2 separate regions of the Homo sapiens genome follow, and region 1 is linked to region 2. Evidence: promoter capture Hi-C in 16 types of primary human blood cells and fetal thymus (Javierre and others, 2016). All regions are on one chromosome and are shown on one strand. Each heading gives the region's core, a stretch centred on a gene start or on the middle of the fragment in contact. The rest is flanking DNA. Distances are from core to core; before and after follow the strand shown. Region 1 overlaps DOT1L (DOT1 like histone lysine methyltransferase). Region 2 holds the start of LSM7 (LSM7 homolog, U6 small nuclear RNA and mRNA degradation associated).

Region 1 (4,678 bases), core at 920-3,419, 140 kb after region 2:
TCAGGATCCTTCCCAGAGACCAGGCCCCTGACAGAGCCCCCACGAGGGGACGGTCATCACAACGCGTCATCCATGGACATCACTTGGTGGCCCCCGAAACCAGAATCCATTTTGAGTCTCAGGGCCCTATGTGATGTTCACTGTTCAGACAGACAGGGCTGCCCAAGACTTTGCAGGTCTGGAAAGGCTGCCGTCCACCTCAAATTATCCCCACGTCACCAGCACACAGACACACAGCAACCTGGCTGATAAAATCTTATGGCACCCCAGGAAGGCTCATGAGCAGGATCTGACTGAGGCTCAATGTAGGGTGGGAGAGGCAGTGAGGGGTCCCCCGCAGCCAGGACAGTCTCCCGGCCGCTGCGGTTTCACAGCATCAGCACACAACCCAGCAACACCCGGCTCTAAGGGAGAAGGAGGGAACAGGGGCTGCAGATACGCCAGCGTCAGGAGGGTGGAGGCAGCGGCGCACACCGGGGGTGTCAAGCCACCTCTCCTCCCCTGCTAGGCAGCTCTGTGCTCCAGGGAACGGGCATGAACCATGGAGCGACCACAATGGGCACAGACCGCCGCCACCACACCAGTGGGAAGAGAAGCACACAGGGACGGGGGGCCAGGGCCCGGCCAGCAAGTGCTAGGCCGTCATCATCTAAAACATATAAGCCTTTTTAATTTTTTGTTTTTGAGACAGGGTCTGATTCTGTCACCCAGGCTGGACTGCAGTGGTGTGATCCTGGCTCACTGCAGCCTCAACCTCTTGGGCTCAAGCGATCCTCCCACCTCAGCCTTCCAAAGCATTGGGATTACAGGCAGGAGCCAAAGAGCCCAGCCAGATATGCCCCATTTTTTTTTTTTTTTTTTTTGAGACGGAGTCTCACTCTGTCACCCAGGCCGGAGTGCCGTGATGCGATCTCGTCTCACCACAACCTCCGCCTTCAAAGTTCAAGCAATTCCCCTGCCTCAGCCTCCCAAGTAGCTGGGATTACAGGCGCGCGCCACCACACCCAACTGATTTTTGTACTTTTAGTAGAGGGAAAGTTTCACCATGTTGGCCAGGCTGGTCTCGAACTCCTGACCTCAGGAGCTCAGATCCGCCTGCTTTGGCCTCCCAAAGTGCTGGGATTACAGGCGTGAGCCACCACGTCCAGACGATACACATTCTTTTTATTGCATTTTTTAAATTTGAAAATAAATTTAAATAAATAAACAGAAGTGGGATCTTGCTATGCTGACCAGCCTGGTCTTGAACTCCTAGCCTCAAGTGACCCTCCCATCTCAGCCTTCCAAGTGCTAAGATGACAGGCGTGAGCTGCCACACCCAGTCTGTGCAAAGTCCTCTTGGTCCCTGCCCCTGGGGCCCCTTCCCCACGTCAAAGCCAGGACTGTGGAAAGGGGGCAGACGTGGGGCTCGCGTGCCTGCAGGCACAAGGTTCACATGTCCATCGAGGTCCAAGGAGCCCAGGGACAGCCTAGACACTGTGGAGAAGGGGCCTTCACTGTCTGACCCTTGGGTGGCCCCGTCAGCCCTGCAGCCTGGATGGGGTGGTCCTATCAAGAATTCGTCAGGCTACTGAGGCTGTTCGTGTACGGGCCGCTCATCTGTGCTTCAGCCAGGCCACGCTGCTGCTGAAGACACACCTAGGGCCTCGTTTCAAGGAGCCCCGCCCGTGGTTGAGAGGAGACGACACCTCACAAGCAGAGTCTGAGTGCAGGCAGAGGCTGAAAGAATGCCAGCAGGTGGGAGCCCCAACCTGGGAGGGGCAGGGCACGGCCCAGACGCAGGGGTGCCGAGGGAGACTGGGGATGCAGGGAGGGCGCGAGGGCCTCCGGGAGCCCAGGGACCTGGGGTCTTCCTCCGCGGGGGACCTTTCCAGCCGCTGTGGAGGGAGCAGGTGTGCCCAGGGAAGGACTGCGGCAGGCTGCAGCCGTGGGTGGGGCCCGGGCTGGGGCCCAGGCTAGCGAGTGGCAGCTTCTGGGAGCGAGCAGTAGAGGGTGCACAGGTCTAGCTCCCCAGCTGGTGGGAAGCAGGACGAAAGCAGAGTCTCCGGGCACCTGGGAGGATGGGCCTGGTCTGGGAGCCACTGGGTTCCTGCGATTTCTCCCCTCTGGGTGGAGCCCGGTCAGGGCTGGGGAAAGGAACGGCCCCACAGCGGGACAGAGGCGCTGGGAGAAGGAAGCACTGTCCACGCCAACGTCGCAAGTCCCTGATAAACTCTTCTCCAAGCAGGCATGGGGCAGGCACAGAGCGTGTGGCCTGGAAGTGCACAGGAGCCGGGCATGGCGGGCGACACTCACCGCTCCCCAAGTCCACAAACAGGTCGTCGTCGGTCATCTTGATCTCATCAATCATCTGGGCCACCAGGTCGAAGGAGGTCTCCCCGTACACCTCGGGGGAGAAGGGCTCGTAGTTGTTGAGCTTCTCGGGGTCGGTCACCGAGTGGTTGTAGACCTGCTGCAGGATATGGCGCAGGAGTCCAGTGGACGGCCGCGTGTTCAGCTTCATGGGCTGCGTGGTGCCCTTCCACTGCGGACGGAGGGTGGCCCGGCCATGTCACATAAACCTCACGGCCCAGCCCCTCCACCACCAAGACCCGGGACCTTTCCCAGCGGAAGCAGGGAGTCGGCTGCATGGCCTCTCGTCCCCCTGCAGGGTGGCTGCCGGGCTCCCAGGTCAGTTTCCAACCCAGCCCCATTTCCTACAAGCAGTAAAGCAGCATCCCCAGGGACAGGCCCCAACTCAGAGGGGTCCTAGGAGGCTCCACCTCCTGCCACGGGCCTCTCTCCCCACTGGCAAGACCACCAAAACCACACAGGCCACCAAGACCACCACCCCTCCTCTGGGCCAAGGCAGCAGGGTGGGGCGCTGACACCAAGGGACCCCCGTCAGGTGCCACGAGCCCCGTGAAAGCCCTGAGCCTACCACACCTCATCTGACTCGACTACGTGGGACCCCGCCTTCCTCCCCACCAGCTGCAGCAGGCTGAGGTGGTCCCCTCTCGCCCAGGCCAGCTCAGCTCTCAGGGGCCCACAGAGCTGCATGCATGAGGTTGAGGGGAAGCCAGAGCCGGGTGGCAGGCTGATGGGGCAGCCCAGCCCAGCCCAGTCCCACTCAGGAGGGCCAAGTGAGCCCATGCCACCCCCACCAGGGCTCCCTCCACAGCAAGACCTTCAAGAAAGAGCTCCCCTACCCCCATGCACCAGGGGCCCCCGGTGCTTTCTAGAACATGGGAAGCAGCACGTTCCCCTCCCTGCTACACCCCAGCTCACTGTGTGCCCCGTCCTCTGTGAGGAAAGCCTCACGAGACACAGCAGGACCGGGGTGCCCAAGGGTGCAGCCCAGGCCGGCATCCAGCCTGATGAAGGCAGGCGGTGTGGGGGAGGTCCAAGGGGGAAGGCCGGCATTCACACAGCCCGGGGAGGACAGGGACCCCGCCTCTGCTGGGACCTGCGGACACCAACCCAGGGCTGCAGAGGCGTGTGCAGACACCACAACCCTCAGGGCCCTGCCTCAGCACACAAACCACGGACGGCTCTGCTTTGGCACACGGCCACAGCACACAGCCCAGCCTCGGCAGCCCCCACACCACTCACCCACAGCCCATCGTCCCCCCACGCTGCACATTCCAATCCCCAGGGGCTCTAAGGGGAGCTCTGTGCCCCGAGGCGGTGACATAAGGGGTCTGGAGGGGTCCGGGAGCCTGGCACTACTAACCCCCTCTGGGCAGGGGCAAGCCACCTACCAGCTGGTGGATGCTGTCGATGGCACGGTTGTACTTGTCGCAGAGCCTCTGCATGCTCTCGAAGCTGAAAAAGGCAAGGGAAGGCCCTGGTCATGCGGGCAGGAGCCAGCCGCATGCATGGGAGGGGACAGCATGTGGATAAGGCAGGCTCCAAGGTGTGGTCCCTGCCTGGACAGCCACCAGCCAGCTGGCCAAGACCCTTCTGGCAGAAGCCTCGCTTTCCGCCCTGATGCAGGAGATTTCAGGTTTGACACACAAGCGAGGTGGCCGGCCGAGAGTCCGGTGCAGGGAAGCACTGAGCCCTGAGGCAGTCTGGACCTGCCCAGGCTCCCGCGCAAAGCCGAGGTCCACGTGTGCTGGAGGCGTGAGGAGAGAAAGAGGGCTCGAGGGGGACTGAGGCCAGCCCCCCAAGTGGGAAACCCTGGGGCCGGCCTTAGAGGGTCTTCCTTGCCCTGGCTGGGGACAGCCACCATCGCCAGAGGCAGGTGAACGGCTGGGGTCTCCCAGGGACCACCAGGCCTCTGCCCGGGCAGGTGCAGGAGGAGTGAGCACTGCAGAAAGGAAGATGCCTCACCCCCACCCACACTGCTCTGTGAGCGTGTCCTTCCAAAGCTCCAACTCATTCACACGTCAGCAGTGTGTCATGTCAGCAGTGTGTCACGTCAGCAGTGTGTCACGTCAGCAGTGTGTCATGTCAGACACGGCACAGCAGGGTCCACAGTGAGACTCAGTCCCCCCGCAGCAACTCTGCCCTCCTTGCCCTGGCCGCAAGGCAAACCCTCATTACCTAAGTGCCCACAACCCAACAGCATCGGGGCAGAGCCCACCAGAGGGCAGGGGGCACCTGTGCTCCAGGGAGTGCCCACTGTCTGTGGGGCACGTGAGCCACAAGAAACACCGGCCACGCGGCCCAGCCAGGCCTGGGCTCAGAGGGGCTT
Region 2 (4,218 bases), core at 81-2,580:
GAGGGGGCCCGACAGCCTTGCAGAGACCAGGGGCATCTCAGGGTAAGAGAAAAGACTAGAGAGTGAAGCGACTGCAATGAGCTGCAGGCTTCCCCAGCAGCCAGGTCACAACTGGACGGCGCACTCATCTGGATGCGACACGGTCTGACATACTTTGAAAGGGTCACCCCTGCTGTGTCGAGGATGGACTGGGGATGTGGTGGACAAAGGCAGCCACAGCAGAGGGATAGCGGTGGGGCTGGAGGAGTGGAGACTGAGGAGCCAGGTGGCGGCGACGCCTTAAGAGTGAGAACTCTGAGGGGGTAGTGAAGGTTAAGGGCTGCATTTGTGGGGCTGCTCCAGGTTCCATTGCCTGAGCCACCGAACTCAGGAGAGAGGGAAGATTTGGAATTAAGAAAATAAAAGATGCAGTTATGACAGTGCGATCTCGTAGACTGTCCCCACTAGAACCTGACACTCTTTACATCAAATGACACACAATGAACATAATGAAGGCCTGTTGGCCCTGGGCGCTGGTCACCCTGGACAGAACCTCCAGAATCCACACCATAGTCGGTCCTCCTTCTGCACACGAATTCCATCGTCCAAGGTCACGGAGTAAAAGATGGAGCGGGGATCCGACCCCAGTGCAGGGCTGGACTCCTGGCCGCTCCAGGATGCTGCCAGTTACTGGGGGACGCGCGGGACGCCTCTGGGTTCCCCCACCGCACCCCCTAGGGTGAGGTTAGCTTAGCACCGTGCCCGTTCCGCCTAAGGGGAAACTGAGGCTCGGAGAGGGGTGGGCAGCCGCCTGCTCAAGGCCACAGAGCCGGAGAGAGGCGTCCCCGGCGGCAACTGGAGACCCCGAAACGGAGAAGCAGAACCGGAGGATGGAGGGGGCACAAATTTCAGACCCGGTGGGAAGTGAGTGGCGCTGCAGCGGCGGAGGGCCTCCGAGGCGGGGAAAGGAGAGGAGCCGGGGACAGACCCGCAAGGTCACGGCCGAGCCCCGGCACCGCCGGCCGACAACGCGGGGACGGCGGATCCCCGAGGCTGGACCCCCAAGACGGGCCGAGCGGGGTCGTTCCTGCGCGTAGCCCGGGGACAGAGAGGCCGAAGGGCCGCAGCCCGCGGTGCCGTCGGGACCGGTGCCGCGCTCACCTGGGCCGCGAGGAGCAGAAAGGCCGCCAAAAGCCGCGCCAGCGCAGCCGCCACCGCTGCCGCCATGTCGGCCGGTGCCCGCCGCAACCAACGGCAGATGTTTCCCAGCAACGCCCCGAGACCCCGGGCCACGCATGCGCCGCGCATGCGCGTGGGGGAGGTCAAAGGGCGCGGGGCGGTGCCTGCGAAGAGCCACACGGCGCGACAAGATGGCGGTGAGCGCGCGGCGGAATCTGGAGCCGGGGGGCGTGGAGCTCGGGCCGCGCTCCAGGTCTCATGCGCTCTGCTTTCCCCGCAGGATAAGGAGAAGAAGAAAAAGGAGAGCATCTTGGACTTGTCCAAGTACATCGACAAGACGATCCGGGTAAAGTTCCAGGGAGGCCGCGAAGGTGAGGAGGCTCCCGCTGTCGGTACCCCCTCTTTAAAAATTTCAAATAAACCCAGCAACAGAGATGATGAGGACGCATGCGGAAGCACCTCTTTTATTTATTTTCATTATTTTTTTTGAGACGCAGTCTCGCTCTGTCACCCGGGCTGGAGTGCAGTGGTGCGATCTCAGCTCACTGCAACCTCCGCCTCCCAGGTTCAAGTGATTCTTGTGCCTCAGCCTCCCGAGTAGCTGGAATTAATGTGTACCACCACGCCCGGCTAATATTTGTATTTTTAGTAGAGAGGCCATGTTGGCCAGGATGGTCTCAAACTCCTGGCCTCAAGCGATCTGCCTGCCTCAGCCCCCTAAATTGCTGGGATTTCAGGCATGAGCCACCATGCCCAGCCTAGCATTTTTGACTGGGCAAGTGAGCTGCCTTCTCCTAGCCTCCGTTTCCTCATTTGTCAAATGGGGCTGGTAACTCCACCCACTTCACAGGGGGTGGTGAGAATGAATGGTTACAGGCATGTAATGTAATTGAGGCAGCTCTCAGCAGGAAGTAAGCAGTCAGACAACACGTCACTTATTCAATAGCCTCTTGGATCTTTGGTTTCTTTTTTTTGTAAGACGGGGACCCAAACCTCTTTGTCCCTGGATTGTAGACAACTGGGTGGCATGAGAGTTATTAAAAATCACAGTGCCCCAGCCGGACGGGGCGGCTCACGTGTGTAATCCCAGCAATTTGGGAGTCTGAAGCAGGAGGGTGGCTTCACCCTAGGGTTTGAGGCTGCAGTGAGCTATGACCGCACCACTGCACTCCAGCCTGGGCCACAGAGCAAGGCCCAGTCTCAAAAGAGAAAAAGGAGGCCAGGCACAGTGGCTCATGCCTTTAATCTTGACACTTTGGGAGGCCGAGGCAGGCAGATCAGGAGGTCAGGAGATCAAGACCATCCTGGCCTACGTGGTGAAACCCTGTCTCTACTAAAATACAAAAAGTTAGCTGGGCATGGTGGCGCACGCTTGTAGTCCCAGCTACTCGGGGGGCTGAGGCAGGAGAATTGCTTGAACCCCAGAGGCGAGATTGTGCCACCGCACTCCAGCCTGGCGATAGGGCAAGACTCCGTCTCAAAACAAAAAGAAAAAGGAATATGAATAAAATGTTTTCTCAGTCTACACCATGCTGACTCCGGACATGGAAGGACATGAGTGAGCGGCCGCTCTTGCTGGTCACACTGCTTCCCTTTGTTTTCTGCCCTTCATAGCAAATCACCCATTTAGCAGCTGAAACAGCACCATTTTATTATCTCACAGGATCTGTGAGTCAGGAGCCAGGGTACCACAGCCTCAAGGGCTCTCAGGAGGTTGTAACTGAGGGTTGTTTTTTGGGGTCCATCATCTTGGGGTCTTCTTCTGAGCCCACTGGTTATTGACAGAGCTCAGTGCCTTACCTTTGCAGGGCCAGGGTCCCCGTTCTGGCCAGTGTTGGCTAGGGACACTTGCAGCTCCCGGACGCTGCCAGCTCGGGACTCTGTTCCACCGTGGTGGTCTGCCCCTACAGTGCTGCAGGCTGAGCTGACATTTGTCCATATTCAGTTATTCGGGCCAGTGGGAGAATCATCTTTCAGAAAGGGTTTGGGGCCGGGTGCGGGGGCTCACGCCTTAATCCCAGCAGTCTGGGAGGCTAAGGCAGGTGGATCACCTGAGGTCAGGAGTTCGAGACCAGCCTGGCCAACATGGCGAAACCCCATCTCTACTAAAAGTACAACAATTAACTGGGCGCTGTGGCTCACGCCTGTAATCCCAGCACTTTGGGAGGCTGAGGCGGGCAGATCACTTGAGTTCAGGAGTTTGAGACCAGCCTGGCCTACATGGCAAGGCCCCATCTCTACTAAAAATACAAAAATTATTTGGGCATGGTGGCGCATGCCTGTAGTCCCAGCTACTTGGGAGGCTGAGGCAGGAGAATCGCCCTGGAGGCAGAGGTTGCAGTGAGCTGAGATCGCGCCACTGCATTCCAGCCTGGGCGACAGAGCAAGACTCCATCTCAAACACACACACACACACACACACACACACACACACACACACACACAAAAAGCAGAAAGGGTTTGGTCCCTGAAGGGCTCACCTGATGCAGTCAGGCCCACCCAGGGTGTTTCTCTCTTGATTGGCTCAGTCAGCTGATTCAGGGGCTCTAATTACAGCTGCAAAGTTCCTTGTCTTTGCCACATAACCTAAGCGCAGGAGTGACATCTTGTCCCGTCAGAGTCACAGGCCCTAGCCCACACTCCAGAGGAGGGGCACCTTGGCTCCATGTTAGAGACCTACCTACCTCAGTGCTCACATCTCTCCCCGTGAGGAGGGCGGGCTCACTGGTCAGGCTGGTGCCAAGGACCTGAACATCTGCATCTGACCCCATCTTATAGGTGAGTTTCATTTTGCAGGGGAGGGACTTGAGCAAAGAGAGAGGGAGCCGTGGAGGTGGAAGCTGAAGCCTGTGGAGGTGGACGGAAGCTTGTATGCAGGCGGGCAGACCTTCTCTGTAGAAGGCCAGACGGCAAATATCTTTAGCTTTGCAGCCCAGATGGTCTCTGTCACAACCACTGAGCTATGCCAGCAGAGCAGGAGAGCCACCCTGGTCAGCGCCTGAGCGGGCGAGTGTGGTGGTGGGCCAGCGAGACTCTGACTTACAGAGAGGAGCGGCGGGC

What was found. The method cuts DNA at HindIII sites, captures the fragments that hold promoters and counts their contacts. A CHiCAGO score of 5 or more calls a contact.
Region 1: a contact is called between a fragment that was not itself captured here and the fragment with the promoter of LSM7 in region 2, in 1 of 17 cell types (monocytes). The highest score is 5.3, in monocytes.

The regions. Positions count from the first base shown.
Region 1 is chr19:2,188,858-2,193,535 of GRCh38, reverse strand. DOT1L (DOT1 like histone lysine methyltransferase) reads right to left here. Exons shown (of 28, transcript NM_032482.3): 4 at 3,741-3,804; 5 at 2,296-2,524. Among named protein-coding and RNA genes, the nearest start is that of DOT1L-AS1, 24 kb to the left of the region's middle. The HindIII fragment of the contact is 8,550 bases long and covers 1-4,678 here.
Region 2 is chr19:2,325,698-2,329,915 of GRCh38, reverse strand. LSM7 (LSM7 homolog, U6 small nuclear RNA and mRNA degradation associated) reads left to right here and starts at 1,330. Exons shown (of 4, transcript NM_016199.3): 1 at 1,330-1,355; 2 at 1,439-1,529. The coding sequence starts at 1,350. SPPL2B (signal peptide peptidase like 2B) reads right to left here and starts at 1,232. Exons shown (of 15, transcript NM_152988.3): 1 at 1,141-1,232. The coding sequence starts at 1,206. RefSeq lists silencers at 946-1,205, 2,226-2,325 and enhancers at 1,416-1,465, 1,476-1,525, 961-1,615, 1,896-1,955. The HindIII fragment of the contact is 4,029 bases long and covers 1-4,026 here.